Linked DNA regions of Homo sapiens: region 2 is linked to region 1. The links are contacts of gene promoters, found by promoter capture Hi-C in blood cells and fetal thymus (Javierre and others, 2016). All regions are on one chromosome and are shown on one strand. The core of a region is centred on a gene start or on the middle of the fragment in contact, and the rest is flanking DNA. Distances in the headings are between cores, read along the strand shown. Region 1 holds the start of PARM1 (prostate androgen-regulated mucin-like protein 1). Region 2 holds the start of LOC100506253 (a long non-coding RNA gene).

Region 1 (5,615 bases), core at 639-3,138:
AAAAAAAGAAAAAAGAGCTTCTTGGGGTGGGGGTGGGGAAGCTACAATACACTGTTTGTTAGGGTTAATCCCGGTTTTGACAACTGCCAGAGCTGTTTAAAAAAGGAAATGATTAAATAAACAAGACAAGCCACTAAATCAAATTTGCAAACGAACCTCTCTACTGACTCACTCAAGGGTTTCTGAACCTCAAGAAAAGATTTTTGAGTGAGGAGAAGTAAAGGTACCTTCCGTGTCATTACGTAAGCATCTCCTGCTTTGAGGATTACAGGAATTACCACCCGCAGCCAGCCGGGAGCTCCGCTGCCTATTGCACCTGCCGGACCTAGGCTCTCTCATCTCAGCCCGAGGCTGGGCAGCCAAAGCCGCCTGCGAGTATTCGGGAACTGTCCGCGGACGCGTCTCCAAACCGTGCCGAGATACCAGCGAGAAAGAGGTTTTCTCAGACGGACGTTCACTAAGTAGAGAAAATACGCTATAGTTTCAAGTTGGGAAACTTTTCCTTATAACTGCATTACCCACTGTGAGCTGCCTGAAAACCGCTAGCTTCTTTTCAAGGGATTGCGACGACTCGTGTCCACAACTGTAGGAACCCGACGAACTCAGAGGGAGGATATACAGACTAAAGCACGAGTAGAATCGGTTTGCGCTATGTGACTTTGGGTCACATTTAAACTGAAAATGCCAGTGGCCGCGCAGTCGGGCTACTTTTCCCAGCAGCACCATATCCACAGCCAGTTGTCCCTTTTCGGGAGACGTTTTCTGGAAAAAATAGGTACCTGAACTCTAGATTCAAAGCGTCTTTCTGAATCTCTCCCCGGTCCCCGCCAAGCCGAGCTCAGTCATCTGGCTCCCCTCTTCCCCATCCCCGCTGCCAGAGGTCGTCGCCGTCTGTGGTCCCGAAACCCGAGAGTGGCTCCTACGAAGCCTTTCAGAGGTGGTGCAGGGGGAGGGGAGAGGATGCTAGTTTAGCCAAGTTAATAGTTTCTTCTATGGGATACGTTTTTGGGGAGTTCTGGGGCAGAAGGTAGCCTTGCTACCCCCAGTGACGATTGCGAGCCTGACCAAGGCCGGGCCGCTGCTGTTAGTGCCACATCATCCTAAGCATAACTAGGAAGGGACGCCGGAGATCAGAGACCGCCAAGACTCGAGAAAGCAAACCAGCCCCGCCAGGCGCGCAGCCGCTGCTGAAGCCTTCCCAGATGCGAACCTCCCACCCCCACTTCCCCGGCTTTTTCATCCCTTCCAGGGCCCAACGGCAACAAGAAGTCTGGTCCCGTACTTTGGCAGAGTGCGCTCCGAAACCCTGGTGAAGAAAGAGAAGCCTTGAGGCGCAGTCCGTGTTGCCCACTCTGGGTTCGAACACGCAGCTAAGACAGCCACCTGTTCTACAAAGCTGGAGTTTGTGCGGGCGCGGGCTGCGGCAGGAAGGACCCCATCGTCCCCTCCCTCAGTACGGTTCGGGACCGCCAAAGGTGCACGTCACCCCAAATCTAAGTGCGCACACACCTGCGCACTCACCCGGAGGCGCGCGGCGACTCACTGCCGGATCTCCTAGCTTCAGCCCCGACCACGCGCTAGCTACTGGGGCCCACCCCGCGACCTGCCCTTCCGGGAGGATGGCGCCAATTACCTGCAGTTAAGATGCAAAGAGCGAAGAGAGTCTTGTAGACCATGGTAGCCTGGTATTTGGTGCCCAGCCCGGGGCGGGCGGCAAGGAGTTTGCGGACTGACAGAGCGCACTGGGCGCTGGTAGCGACTCCTCTGCCGGGTGGGCTGCGGTGGGAGCCGGGAGGCGCGAACAGCTCCAGTGGAGGGCGCGAGGCAAACGAGGCGAACGCAGCGCAGCTCCGTCAGCTGCGTGCCCTCCGGTGCTCCGCGCTCTTCTGCTCCATCCCAGCCGCCCGAGCCCGGGGCCGCCTCCGCCTCCGCCGCCGCCGCCGCGCCTGCCGCTGCCAAACCCCTCCCACCCGGGCCCCGCGGCGATGACTGGGCCACCCCCTGGCCTTCCTTCTCTCAGCCCTCAGGTCCCGAGAGCCCCGGCCCAGAGCGGCCTCTGCTGGACAGTCAAGACACGAGACCCTGGGTTCAGCAAATGTTTGCAGCGCCTTGCACTGTGCTGGGAACTAGGGATGCAAAGAAATGTGAGCACATCTCTGCCCTTAGGAATCTAGCTCAGCTTTTCCTACATGAGCTTACAGCCTTTAAAAAGGTGACCTTATGCCATTTTAGGAGTTCCCTCGGAGAACCGGCACATGTTCCAAGAATGAGGACCTTCTTCATTTGTCAAAACACTTCTGCGTGTACATCATTAAACCCTCATCCACATTAAACCCGGCTGAGCTTCCTGGGGCCCGAACCAGGATGTCTGCCGCTGCATTCAGCTTCTTACTAGAAGAAAATACTGTCGGGGGGATAACTAAGCCAGACACCCTACTAGGCGTTGTTTCATGAATCCTTCTAAGAATTATTATTATTCCATTTTACAGGTGAGAAAATGAAGGCACAGAGAAGACAATGTTCTCAAGGTCGCATAACTGGTAAGAATAGTTTGTGCACTAGGCCCATAATAAAGGCTGACGTTTCCTGAGTGATTGCTATGTGCTAGGCACTGGACAACGTGCTGTTCAGGAATCAACCAAGTCATTTAGTTCTCACAACAATCCTTGGAGATTATATCCTCGTTTTCAGGGGAGAAAGTAGAAGCACAGAGAAGTTTAACTTGCCCGAGTTCACACAACTCGCAAGTAATGATAAGATGCCTGCCCAGGCACCCCGCTCAGCCTCTGTACTCTACTCCCTCTCAAGAGCCCAAAGCTTCTCCAAAGCCTACAGATTAGAACTGACCTTTCATTCAGTTCCCTCCCTGCTCTTGCTACACTTTAGGCTTGCTTAATTCTCACACTTCGATCAAAGCAGATGCCAGGTTCTCTCCCAATTCTGTTATTAATGAACCTATTGGTCCCCTAGTCACTAGAGCTGGGGCACTGCAGGAGTTAACAAGCCTTTGTAAAGAAATGATTTGCGTGGAAGGCAGCTTTCTTTTTTCTGTAATATCTTCTTCATATGCCATGGGCTCTGTTCTCACTTCTTTCTCACATACCAGAAGCTGACTCTAGGAGTCCTGAGCACCTTATCTATGGTCAATTCCTCTGCCTGACTCTATCACACTACCACTTGTAGATTTTGCTCACACTTCCACAACCAGATTAAATTTGGATCATATTTTTTTCTCTTTGTTTTGGTAAATCTAGTAATTTCTGTTGGAATGAGAAACAAAAAATACTCAGACCAAGTGCCCATCCCCTCTCCATCCTCCCTGGCCAGATAAACTGCAAATTCAATTTGTTCAGCATGTTCTCTGAATGCTTTTGACTTCAAGGCCCTTCCGGTTTCTAGGGTAATCTATGTGATTAGGAACAATTTCTGCATCTGGGTTTTGGTTGTCATGGATGCAGGGACCACACACAGATGGAGTTATGCAGCGACATTCTATCAGGCATTAGCCCCTTTAAATAGGGCAGGTTAAGTAAGTGACTCTATGGCAGAAATATAGGTTTTTGAAGACCACTTCACAGAAAAAATTTATTCAATTGAAATTCAGCAAAACTTGAAGGAGTCTTTCTGGAGTGCGAAGCATGTGCAACTCTAACCTTGATATCTAAGATAATGGTTTGGTACTCAAAGAATCATGACCCCTACACACTAATCAGTGAAAATTTCCAAAACTTTTCTATTGTACGCAGGATAGAGTTGAAATAATTTCTTTGATTAAAATAGTTCATTTTAATTGCTGATTAAAAATTTTAATTTATTAATTAATTTAGTCAGAGCATATTTAATCACTTATTTTACGCCAGCCCTTATGCTAGGCAATGGAAATACAATGGTTGTAATAGCCAGGGTAGTGTAGGTTATGCTGCTGTAACAAACCAGCCCAAAGTCTCCCAAGCTTAAGCGATAATGGTTTATTTTTTGCTCATCAAAGTCTGCTATGGATCCAGGTTACTCCTCAGAGTAGCTGTCCTCAGGATCAGTGTTGTACCGCCATATCGAAACCTGCTTTTGTTACAGTAGGTAGCTAGATAGGCATGAGTGGGGCAGCAGAGGGCTCCCCCCACACCCCACCAGGAAAGTCAGGTAACCATCATGTGATGGCCAGGCAGTTATTAACTGTCTCTCTAAAATAATAATTGGTTACAGCTGGCACGAGGGACTGACCATCTCCCCATAAATAGGGAACACATGAAACTGGTAATCAGCAGCTTCCAATAAGATCTCAGGAGGTGGGTGACTGAACTCAAGCATGTGCATTAAGATGCAAAATGGTGGAGTTTAACTGGTATATGACCTTCTGGGGGCATTAAAGCAATGCAAGACGCCAGAAGTAGACCAGCATGTAAAACCCTAAGTGCAAGGTCAAATGGGGCACTTGACGTCCAAGATGCCCTCTTAGGCCTCTTCCAACTGTGCTTTCCTTTCTTGCTGCTCTAAAGCTTTTTAATTAACTTCCACTCTTGCTCTGAAACTTGCCTCAGTCTCTTATTCTGCCTTATGCCCCTCAATTATATTCTTCCTTCCGAGGCAAGAATTGAGGTTGCTGCAGTCTCTGCCGGTGACTCAAATAACTTCCACCTCTAACAGTTTCACATCCACCTCTAACAGTTTCACATCCACTGAGTTAGGGAAAGAGAGAAGTGGAGAATTAAGTATTTAAATCTTCCACCTAAAAGTGACAATTCTGTTCATATTTTATGGGCTAAGGCAAGTCAATGGCCATGCCCAACTTCAAGAAAGCAAGAAAGCATGTTATTTTTGCGTGCTCAGATAGAGACGAGAACTCTATAGCAGGGAACATTGTGATATGTGCCACAGGGGCTAATTGTCCCTGCACCAGGAAACTTATTTTCTAGTAGTGGGGAGTTAAACATTGAATGAATAATCACAAAGACATATGCAATAACATTATATTAAATGCTACAATAATAATAATGATGAAAATTTATTAATTGTTTCAAGCATTTTATGTACAGTCATGTGTTTACATTTCTACACTCTAACTTTGTGAGATAGATACTGTAGAAGACCAGAATGTGCCACTTCAGAATATGCCTTTTCAGTATAAGCATTTGTTTGAGAAACAGCAGCTATAGGAGCAACTCTGAGAACAGAGTGGAATTACCTTTTTGTAGGGTGAATTTAAATCTATAAAGGAAATTTTCATTTGTAAAAATGTCTTCCTCTGAATTCTAGGAAGAAAAGGATGGCACTAAATTACTGGAAACTCTTATCAATGGAGAGGGCTCTGACTTAAATACGCATAACAAACTTTACCTTTGTTTGCCATGCTTTACCTGGTCACTTCCTCATAACTGCACCCCTACCCCCATACTCCTCTTTCTTTGTTTCAGCTGAAGATGATATTTAAGTTTGAATTCAAAGTCACCTCTTTGAAAATTACTAATTCCCTGACTATCTCCTGTACATATATATGAAATATACATGTTAATAACCTCGTGGGGTTTTTGTTGTTGTTAATCTGTCTTTTGTTATAGGGGATCCCAGCTTAGAACTCATAAGGGGTAGAGAGAAAAATTATCTTTTCTCCCCCCAAA
Region 2 (5,587 bases), core at 2,067-4,566, 250 kb before region 1:
CTGATAATTGTTCTGTTTAGGAGGCTGAAGATAGGGACTCAATCCCTTTTAGCTTGTAAGGTTTCTGCTGAGAAATCTGCTGCTAACCTGATAGGTTTTCCTTTATAGGTTATCTAATTAGTGCTTTTAACTCATGGCTGTTAAGATTCTTTCCTTTGTCTTGACTTTAGATAACCTGATGACTATGCCTAGGTGATGATATTTTTGTGATAAATTTCCCAGATTTTCTTTGAGCTTCTTGTACTTGGATGTCTGGATCTCTAACAAGGTCATGGAAGTTTTCCTTGATTATTCCCTCAAATATGTTTTCCAAACTTTTACATTTCTCTTTTTCCATGGGAACACCCAGTATTCTCAGGTTTGGTCATTTAACATAACCCCAAACTTCTTGGAGGCTTTGTTCATTTTTTAATTTTTTTTGTTTTTTTTCTTTGTTGGATTAGGTTAATTTAAAAACCTTGTCTTTGAGCTCTGACATTCTTTCTTCTGCTTGTTTGATTCTATTGCTGAGAGTTTCCAGTGCATTTTACATTTCTCTAAGTGTGTCCTTTACTTCTAGATGTTGTGATTGCTTTTTATTTATGCTATCTATTACACTGATGATTTTTCCCTTCATATCTTGTATTACTGTTTTGATTTCATTAAGTTGGACTTCACCTTTCTCTGATTCCTCCTTGATTAGCTTAATAATTGACCGTCTGAATTCTTTTTCTGGCAATTCAGGGATTTCATCTTGGTTTGGATCTATTGCTGGTGATCTTTTGGGGGTGTTAAAGAACCTTGTTTTGTCATATTACCAGAATTGTTTTTCTGGTTACTTCTCATTTGGGTAGGCTGTGTCAGAGGAAATATTTGGGGCTCAAGGGATGCTGTTCAGATTCTTCTGTCCCATGGGGTGCTCTTTTGATGTAGTGCTCTCCTCCTTTCCCTGGGGATGTGGCTTCCTGAGAGCCAAACTGGAATGATTGTTATTTCTCTTCTGGATCTAGCCACCCAGCAGAGTTGCCAGGCTCTGGCCTGGTACTAGGATTGTCTACACAGAGTCCTGTGATGTGAACCATCTTTAAGTCTCACAGCTGTAGACACCAGCACCTGCTCTGGTGGAGGTGGCAGAGGAGTGAAACAGAGTCTGTGAGCGTTCTTAGTTGTAGTTTTGTTTATTGCAGTAGTTTTGTGTTGGTTGGCCTCCAGTCAGGAGGTGGCACTTTCAAGAGGGCATTAGCTGAGGTAGTAGAGGGAGCATCAGGTGGTAGGTGGGGCCCTAGAGCTCCCAAGAGGTTAAGTCCTTTTTCTTGGGCTATCAGGGCAGGTAGATAAAGACCATCAGGTGGGGGCAGGGTTAAGCATGTCTAATTTCAGACTCTCCTTGGGCGGGTCTTACTGCAGTTACTGCGGGGGAGGGGGGGTGTGGTTCTCAGGCCAGTGGAATTCTGCCCCCGGGGGATTATGGCTGCCTCTGCTGTGTCATGCAGGCCACCAGGGAAATGGGTGAAAGCTGGCAGTTATAGGCCTCACTCAGCCCAAAAGGCTGGTTTCACTTTCACTGTGCTCCCTCAACAGCACCAAGTTTATTTCCAGGCAGTGGGTGAGCAGGGCTGAAAAGCTGCCCCAGGCTACCAGCCTCCCAGCTGAGAAAGCAAGCAGGGCTTTTAGATTTCACCTCTCCCCACCTACCATGGCTTCTGTGCTGTGATTGCACTCCTGATTCAACCCCTCCCCTGATTTCTGTCGGGGAAACTTTGCATTCGGTCGAAATTGTTACAAAGTTCAGCTGGAAGTTTCCTTCCCTGTGTGGTTTCTTCCCGGTTCCTCTGGCAGCCCTCCCCAAGGACTTCTGTAAGACAAAGTCGGAAGTTACTTCCTTGGGGACCGAGAGCCCACAGGGGTCTTCCTACTGCTTCTTCTACCCCTGTATTTCACTCAGCTCTCTAAATTTGTCTCAGCTCCAGGTAAGATCAAATCCTTTACCCGTGATCTGGAACTTCAGGTTCCCCAGTGAGAGTGTGTGTTTGGGGGCAGACAATCCCCCTTTCACACATTGGGCACTCACAGTTTTTTGGCTGTCTCCAGGCGCCCTGCAGGAGCAATCTGCTTCCTTCAAAGAGTCTGTGGGTTATCTCAGCTTTCCTGTTCTTCTTGATTTTTGAATGTGTAAGGGTAACTCTAGAATTTTTCTCATCTTTGAATAGAGGACATGAAATTTTCTCTCCATGGTCTAGGGAGAGTTATGGCTCCAGGAAAGAAGAGAAAATGTATTATATTTCCCACTTCTCTTCTATCTTTGCAGGAAGGCAGGGATTTCAACCTGGGCAACAAGTCCACAGAACATGAGATTTCTGAAGGTGAGTCACATAGAACATTGACTGGGTTGAACTCAGGTCTGGACAACAATTAAGTACTGTAAATCTCTTGGAGGATATAGGCTTATTTCTTAAGTTATTATTACATATAAATGATAATATATGTAAAAAATATATAAATAATGATAATATATATATTTATATGTAAATGATAAAATAAAATATATATTTTATAAAATAAAAGATATATCTTTGATAAAATAAAATAAATGTAAATGATAAAATATATTTTTCAACCTAAAATTGCAATATATATAGTTGACCCTTGAGCAACACAGGTTTGAACTTCATAGGTCCACTTATAAGTGGATTCTTTTTCCATAAACGCATTGAAAAATTTTTTGGAGATTTTGACAATTAAAAAAAACAAACAAACTGCAAAGCATAGCAATATAGAAAAAATCAAGAAAAAGTATGTCATAAATGCATAAAATATATGTAGACAGTAGTCTATTTTATCACTTACTACCATAATATACACTAATCTATCATTAAAAGTTAACATTTATCAAAACTTACATACACAAACACAGACTGTATATGGTGCCATTTGTACTTGAGAGAAATGTAAACAAATAAAAAGATGTAGTGTTAAATCATAACTTCATAAAATTAACTGTAGTGCATACTATACTACTGTAATAGTTTTATAGCCACCTCTTGTTGCTATTGTGGTGAGCTCAAGTGTTACAAGTATCCACTTAAAATGCCACCTAATGCTAATCATCTCTTTGTAAGCAGTTTGTCTCTCCAGTAAATTGTGTATCACAGTAAAAAGCTGTCTCTCAAGTTTCTTGTTTATTTTTCATCATGTTTAGTACAATATAATACACCTTGAATAACACCATGGGACTCACATGAAGTGTGACTAGTGATGCTGGAAGTGCTTCCAAGAAGCAGAGAAAAGTTATGACATTACAAGCAAAAGCTCAGTTGCTTGATAAGTCCCATAGCTTGAGGATGTCAGGTGCAGTTGCCCACCATTTCAGATAGGCAATTCATCTTGTAAACAGACGACATAAACTTACAGTATTGATAAATACAATCCACTACTGCAAATTTATTTTCACATCCTTATGATTTTCTTAATAATGTTTTGTTTTTCCTATCTTACTTTATTGTAAAAATACAGTAGGTAGTATATATAACATACAAAATATATGTTAATCAACTGTTTATATTATCGGTAAGCCTTCCAGTCAACAGTAATCTATTAGTAGTTAAGTTTTGGGGGAGTCAAAATTATATACACATTTTTGACTGCACAGGGGGTCAGTGACCCTAACCTCTATGTTGTTCAAGAGCCAACTGTATATTTCTTTCTGTTATCTCTCTATAGTGAAATGCCTTTCAGTGGAGAAAATAAATAAGTATGTATATACACTGGGAAACTTATCTATACACATAGAGAGAAGTGTTTTACTAATGAGATATTCAATACTACCCAAGTTAACTCTCGTATACTACTTCTTGTAATTTTTCCTTGCTTTTTCTACTTCCAGGTGTGTGGGATACATCATGGTTACATAAAAATCCTTTCACTATAGTTCCTGCTTCCCTATCTTCAAAATGATTCCCTGAAGACTTCCGCCATGACGGTCTAAAGCCTAACCTCTGAACTGTGGATGGAAAATTGAACTCCTTGATGTGATCTCTGCACATCATGCAACCCTAAACCTAAATATATTCTCTGTGTGGGAGCCCCATTATTTTTAGTCTAATACATTTTAAGTCATCTTAAAAAATTATATTTTGTTTTCTTTTATATGGTCGATTTTACCTTGTTTTCTTTGACTATTACTTGTTGTCTTGTATGAGATTCTACTGGTCTCAAGGCTTAAACCTCACAATCTTCAGGGTCTGATGGATTTCTCTCTATTTTCTAAGTTCCCTGGGATATGTTTGATGAGTTTTTGTGGCAGAGAAGCAGAGAAAGGAGAAAGGTGATGTCTATACTACTTCCTTTTTCTCCCCAGCCACAAATGCCAGAGTCTATAAAGAGACCCTGAGAAGCAAGCTCTGTGCAGAGTCACTTCTAAGAAATACCAGGATAAAATGTAGGTGAGAGACATTTGTGTGAAAAAAGGGATGAGAGAGAGGAGGAAGGATTGAGAAAATTTTCAAGGCAGAAAGGGACCTATATCTTCTAATTTGGCAAAATGGGAGAGGTAGGTAGGAGATGGGAATGCTCTCTTATCTATCTCGCCTTTTGGATGGAGATTAATAACACAACCCAGGAGAAAGTGATCCTTAGGAAGCCCAAATGACTGAAAACAGCCCTCGAGTATACCAATTGGACAAGTTGGGGTGAAGGAGACCTAGTTATTGTAATACATAGGTAGAGATTGTGGTTGTGAGACTGTTGGGTGATTAACTCATAGATGTTCCAAAGTCATCTGTCAGCTAAAATAGCTGTCATTAGGAATGCTTGAAAGGTTTCAAAGAATACTTCAGTAGCAATGAGCATACCTAGGACCTAGATCTGGGCTTCTAAATCTCATTCTCCACTAAAAGAATCTGGGTCTCCTTGCACAAGTGGCTGATTCCAGGTCCAGGGCGTGAAAAGTACAAAGTGAACTTGGAACATTTCTGTGCCACAAAGCAAGAAAGTGATCAAAGAATAAAGGGGACATGTTGCAAAGGACCCAGGAGCTTGCTTAAAGAGGCTTCCATTACCTACATTTGAGATAATCTGAGTATCATCATGACTATTGATGATAATGGAATATAACCCAGATAACAAAATAAAAATCTGTAAGTCCATACTAATGTAAGTAAATAAATGAGGAAATAAATGATGGAGAAGTGAACTCTTTTCCTTATAGTAGAATCCCAAAGAATAAAGATAGAGAAAATGATGGACTTGGAAAATCACCATTTGGCAGTCCCTATAGTAATAATTGTTTCAGGTAAAAATAAACAGATTCGAAAATCAGAGTATGATGAAAACCAGGATACTTAATATACATTGTCTCAAAGTATATCTCTACAACATATTTATTAATTTCAAAGAAAAAACTTTCTTTACATTGGATAAACCTGATAGAAATCACCTCGACTATATGATCAAAGTTCACATCACCAATAATGGGACACATAGACATCATGTGCTTCCTGAGAAGGACATAACAACATTTCTATGATATTTCTGTCAAAAATGCATAATCTGAATCTAATCATGAAGGGGTAATCAGACTAACCCAAATCAAAGGTTTGTCTACACAATA

The links. The method cuts DNA at HindIII sites, captures the fragments that hold promoters and counts their contacts. A CHiCAGO score of 5 or more calls a contact.
Region 2: a contact is called between a fragment that was not itself captured here and the fragment with the promoter of PARM1 in region 1, in 1 of 17 cell types (M0 macrophages). The highest score is 5.4, in M0 macrophages.

What each region holds. Positions count from the first base shown.
Region 1 is chr4:74,929,389-74,935,003 of GRCh38, reverse strand. It overlaps PARM1 (prostate androgen-regulated mucin-like protein 1), which reads right to left and starts at 1,888. Exons shown (of 4, transcript NM_015393.4): 1 at 1,634-1,888. The coding sequence starts at 1,676. RefSeq lists an enhancer at 955-1,004 and silencers at 1,115-1,164, 1,745-2,054. The HindIII fragment of the contact is 7,366 bases long and covers 1-2,819 here.
Region 2 is chr4:75,177,166-75,182,752 of GRCh38, reverse strand. LOC100506253 (a long non-coding RNA gene) reads left to right here and starts at 1,457. Exons shown (of 3, transcript XR_109812.5): 1 at 1,457-1,949; 2 at 2,288-2,342; 3 at 3,863-5,587. RefSeq lists an enhancer at 1,206-1,706. The HindIII fragment of the contact is 6,697 bases long and covers 1-5,587 here.